Regions from separate parts of the Homo sapiens genome. Here region 2 is linked to region 1. The links are contacts of gene promoters, found by promoter capture Hi-C in human tissues and cell types (Jung and others, 2019). All regions are on one chromosome and are shown on one strand. The core of a region is centred on a gene start or on the middle of the fragment in contact, and the rest is flanking DNA. Distances in the headings are between cores, read along the strand shown. Region 1 holds the start of PSMC1 (proteasome 26S subunit, ATPase 1). Region 2 overlaps LOC124903356 (a long non-coding RNA gene).

Region 1 (2,725 bases), core at 86-2,585:
GCTTCTACTGCAGGGCCTCTGCCCTGGCTGTTCCCTCTACCTAGAAAGCTCTTCCACCAGATATCTGAATAGCTTACTCCTTCATGCCTTACGGGCTTTTGCTCAAGTATCATCCAATTTAAAGTTAAAATCACCCACCACTGCTGCATGCTCCTAATCCTAGGCATTTTTCCTAGGCATTAATTTTTCCTATGGCATTTACCACTATGTGGCATACTATATATTTTACTATTTACTTGTTTCTTGTAAAATGCATTAGGGAAAGGATATTTATTTTGTTTTTTAAATTTTTATTAATTTTTTTTTTTGAGACAGAGTCTCGCTCTGTCACCTAGACTGGAGTGCAGGGGCGTGATCTCACTGCAACCGTCGCCTCCCAGGTTCGAGAGATTCTCATGACTCGACCTCCCAAGCAGCTGGGATTACAGATGCCCACGATGATGCCCGACTAATTTTTGTATTTTTAGTAGAGATGGGAGTTTCACCATCTCTATCCTATGTGTGATACTGTCCTATCGTGTGATTTCATGTGTCATGTACACTAGATGCCAGATTTGTTAACAGAGGTCGATAGTGCTAAGACTTTCTATTACCGTGTTGCAGTGATGATGAAAAGGAAGAAGTATACCTGTTGTGTGTTCATAAGGGAAATATTTTTAGTGTTTCACAACTAAAATCCCTAAATCAATCTGGAGCAGAAAAAAAATCATCCATTTCTCCAGTTCAGAAAGATGCAGTATTTTGAGCACTTGTTAATGAAATTTCCAGAAACAGAAGGGATTGTTGCCATTTTTCTGATGTCCTGGAGGGTGTAACAAATGAGGAACTTTACCAATCAGCTTCAAGATGAGGAATTTAAGACATTTGGCATCATCACAAGTCACAGGTCATCAGAAAAAGACAGGTTTAGAAGACTCGTTACACACATACTCCCAGATGTGCAGGTTAAATTCCAGAAGCTGAATAATAACTGAAATATTTGTGCAAATGTATATGTCAACTTCCCAGTTCCAAATACCATTCCAGTTTTTAGAACCATAAAGTTCTTCCCAGTTATAAATTTTGCATAATTTAAATATTTTATATTTTCACGATTGTCCTAATTCTTTGACAGTAGGGGTCATTGTCTTAAGTTGTTGACAAGCGCCTCATAACGGGTATTCAAAAATTTCTTTCAAGTAAAATATTTATAAAGTTCACTTTATGCTTATAAACTGCTGCGTTGCCCTAGACCGCCCGCACAAGCCCTTGGAGCACAACTTGGTCAGCGCAGAATTTGGTTCCTATCAGCTTCCGTAGCGTCCCTAACGACTTCCGCCTCTGGCGGGCCGCAGTGGTGGAGGAACTTCCGGCAGCGGCAGCTCAAGTGGCCAAGGCAAGATGGTGAGTGACTAAGGGTTTCTTTCCGCTGGTCGTCGCGGTGCGATGGGGTCTCAGCAGCCTGAGGCGAGAGAAAGAGGCGGCTGCCCGAGGAACTGGGACAGCCCTCTTCTCCTTTTGCCGGCCTGATCTTCTCGGCGGGTGGAGGCTCCCAGAGACCGCGCTCATGTCCACCGCGGGCCGGGGCCGACCAACGGGCCTTGCCCGGGGATCCTGGGGCCGGGGCTCAGAGCAGAGAGAGGGTCTCCTGCGTGGTCTTGTGGGGCGGCAGAACGGATCAGGCCGCTGGCTTTGCTGCTCCGCCGACCAGGGCTTTGCTGATCGGCGCTGGGAGTTTCGGGGGCGCCTCCTCGAGTCACCGGGAAAAATGCTTTTTGAGTCGGGCAGGTGAAGGGTGCTGGAGAAGAGGGTGGGATTCATTCCACCTGAGGAGTTGAGCGCGGAGTCGTGGAAGGCCTTTCGGAGCTGGGGGCATTTGAAGGAGGCCTTAAAGACGTTGTTATGACAGGCGGAGCTAAGACGGAAAGGGCCCGTGGTGCAGTAGTAATAATAAAAACAGCTAGCATTTATTCATCAATTCACTAAACAAGTATTTACTGAGCACTTGGTGTTTTGTTGTTGTTGTTAAACTTTTGGCTAGCTTCTGTTGTAGACACTGAGGATTGATTGAAGTCCCTGCCTTCATAGTGCGTACATTCTAGAGCAGAAGGCAGACAATCATCAGAAATATGTAATATGATGTCAGGGGTGGGGTGGTCATTGTTGTATGGTTATTGTATAGAAAGGGATAGCTTGGAGGAGTGGCTGCTTTTTATAGAGTCAGCGAAGGTAGCTCTGAGGAGGTGAAATTTGAGCGGACCGAAATTGAGGGAGTAACCCCTGCAGATGTCTGAGGGAAATGTGGTCAAGGCAGAAGATACAGCAAGTGCAAAGGACCTGAGATGGGAATGTTTAACCTGTATCATGAACGGCAAGAAGGCCAGATCTCATAGAGGTCTTTTTTATTTTAATTTTAATTTTTATTTTTTTGAGACGGAGTCTTGGTCTGTCGTCCAGGCTGGAGTGCAGTGGCGCGATCTCCGCCTCCCGGGTTCAAGCGATTCTCCTGCCTTAGCCTTCCAAGTAGCTGCGACTATAGGCGCCCGCCACTACGCCCGGCTAATTTTTGTATTTTTGTAGAGACGGCGTTTCACTCTGTTGGCCAGGCTGGTCCTGAACTCCTGACCTTATGATCCGCCCGCCTCGGCCTCCCAAAGTGTTGGGATTACAGGCGTGAGCCACCGCGCCCGGCCTCATAGAGGTCTTATACGGATTTCTGGGTAGTATTCTAAGCATGTACCAAGTA
Region 2 (2,725 bases), core at 114-2,613, 1.2 Mb before region 1:
CTGAGTGTTCTTAGAATTTTACATAAATAATACTATTCTGTATCATTTTATACCTTGCATATACTTCAGTTAACATGTTTTCAAGATGGATCCATGTTGTTAGACATAGATATTGTTAATTCATCTTAACTGCTCTATCCCCTTTGAGGTTTATACTGTGGCTCAGCAATTCTGCTTCTAGAAGTCTTCCTAGAGGAACCATCAGGTATGTACAGAAGGCAATATGCTCAAAGAAGCTCACTGCAGAACAGTTCACGATAGTGAAAAAAGTGTGGAGAATCTGTTCTGGTCATCTTATTGCCAAGTAATAAACCTCCCAACCTTAGTGGCTTAAATCAACAATAATTGCTTATTCTGCTCATGAATCTTCAATTTGGGCAGAGCTAGGCAGGAACAGCTCATCTCAGTTCCATACGGCATTGGCTGGAGTGTCTGAAAAGCTGGAGGCCAGAATTGCCTGGGGACACACTTGCTCCCATATCTGGGGATCAATGCTGGCTGTTGGCTAGGACCTAAGCTGGGACTGTGGCCAGAGCGCCTACTTCGTGGCTGCTGCATGTGGCTGCTTGGCTTCCTCACAGCATGGCGGCTGGGTTCCAGGAGCAAGTGTCCCAAGACAGCAAGGCAGATGCACATGGCATTTTTATGATCTCATCATCACTTCTGCCACAATCAACTGATCACAAAAGTTCACTGAAGTTCAAGGGGAGAGGATACAAAGAAGTCAGCCCAGACCCACCCAGGTTCAAGGGATGTCACAGTTACACTTTAAGAAGAGCATATGGAATGTGATGTATTGTGGTGGCCACTCTTGGAAAATACAATCTGCCACACAACCTAACCGTTCACGCTATGGGACACATAAATACACAAAATTTTGGTGTCTTTGCTTTTGCTGTTTTAAAAGCTGTAAAAAGATGGGCATCTTTTCTCAAAACATAAGCATATTTCCATGCGGAATAAAAAGAATGAAGTGTTTAGGAGGTGATAACAGGGACTTTATACTGGTCTCTATATATCTTTGTATGATGAAATGTTATTACTTCTAGGCACAGAGAACATCTTCCTCCCTTAGAGTACTCTCAGGAACAGTCACAAAAGAGAGTTACTTTTTAAGTTCCTTTTTTCTTTCTCTTGAACAGTATGAAGAAAATCTCCTAGTTCTACAAATTGAGGACTATGATACAACGGTTGCAAAAATGGTGTCTCCTTGAGGGTGCATCTTTGTTCTCTCTGCACTCCAGAAAACCTGGAGAGAGGCTCTGGGTGTCTTGTCTTCATCAGCAGCATAGCGGCTAAAGGGGTCTCTGGAGCCTGGATGGTTGGGTGTGACTCCTGGCTTTGCCACTGGCTCTCTGTGCTTACTTAACTTCCCTGTGTTTCAATTTCCTTATATGGACAACGAGTCTAATGTTACCACATGCAATATTTTTGTAAACACTAAATTTGTTCATCTTGAATTCTGCTTAGACTTGATGAGTGCTTTAAAAGTCATCCGCTGTTATTAGTAATTACAAGAGAGCTGATTCAGAAAGTTGGAAGTAACTTGCACCAGATTAAGTGGATTTAATCATGAACACTATCCCCATGGGCAATCCCAGAATCCTCCCAGCCCGCAGGATAATTAAAGTCAGGCTCTCGATGGAAACCTCTCCTGCCTGTCTTCCTCCGTGTGAGAGAGTTGAAATTGTCAAGATGGGAGGCTGCAGGAAGGGGACGTGCGTCACAGACAGGCGGCAGGAACCCTCCTGCGTTCCTATTTTACAGACAGGGATGCAGCCTGGAGCTCCTGCCTGGGCGTGGCGGCCACAGGGCGCAGTGGGAAGTCCCATGCTCTGGTTAGATGTGAGTTCTCTTCCCAAATCCCCAGCCTTCCCCGACTCCGCTCAATAAAAGCTCCTTGGCCTGGCGCGATGGCTCACGCCTGTAATCCCAGCACTTTGAGAGGCCAGGTGGGTCACGGGGTTAGGGGTTCAAGACCAGCCTGCCCAAGATGGTGAAACCCCGTCTCTACTAAAAATACAAAAATTAGCCGGGCCTGGTGGTGCGCACCTGTAATCCCAGCTACTCGGGAGGCTGAAGCGGGAGAATCGCTTGAACCTGGGAGGCGGGGGTTGCAGTGAGCCGAGATCGCGCCACTGCACTCCAGCCTCGGCGACAGAATAAGACTCCGTCTCAAAAAATAAAAATAAATAAATAAATAAGCTCGCCTCGGAGAAGGCTGGGGGTGGAGAAGCAACAGAGACCCGAAGGCTGTGTCTCAACCATCGGCGATGGGCTTGAGAGATAGACTTGTGTTCCCGTCTGTTACTTATTAATCGGTGACCTTGGCAAATTACTCAGTCTCTTCTGCCTCATTTTACTCCTCTCTAAATTGTCAAATGCTCATAAGGTTCTTTTCCGAGGGGGTCAGCGCAGTGCCTGACCCAGGGTGAGCCTCAGCGAGCAAGAGCCCACGATGGGGTTGGCGGAGAGGCGCGTCCTCGAGGTAACAGGGATGCTGAGAGGTGGCTGAATTCTTCCTTCTTTCAGCGCCCCTGACCTCCCGGCACGGCGCTGGGGAACTCACGGGTCTGGAGCGTGTCCGTGCTGGGCCCCCGGAGATGATTTCTGGAATCGCGACCCGGGGACCTGAGGCCACTCTGGGACCTGCGAGGCAGTTGTTGCCCAAAGACAAGGCCTGGGTACAGGAGCTCGGGAAGCTCTCTGCTGCCCGTCTCCGTTA

Evidence for each region. Contacts are between HindIII fragments. The study calls those that stand out against the background at their distance.
Region 2: a contact is called between a fragment that was not itself captured here and the fragment with the promoter of PSMC1 in region 1, in 1 of the 25 tissues and cell types used here (lymphoblastoid cells).

Annotation. Positions count from the first base shown.
Region 1 is chr14:90,255,218-90,257,942 of GRCh38, forward strand. PSMC1 (proteasome 26S subunit, ATPase 1) reads left to right here and starts at 1,336. Exons shown (of 11, transcript NM_002802.3): 1 at 1,336-1,383. The coding sequence starts at 1,381. RefSeq lists enhancers at 982-1,511, 1,387-1,626, 1,512-2,039. The HindIII fragment of the contact is 25,675 bases long and covers 1-2,725 here.
Region 2 is chr14:89,024,350-89,027,074 of GRCh38, forward strand. It overlaps LOC124903356 (a long non-coding RNA gene), which reads left to right. Exons shown (of 2, transcript XR_007064297.1): 2 at 1,143-1,460. Among named protein-coding and RNA genes, the nearest start is that of TRA-AGC15-1, 47 kb to the left of the region's middle. The HindIII fragment of the contact is 6,187 bases long and covers 1-2,725 here.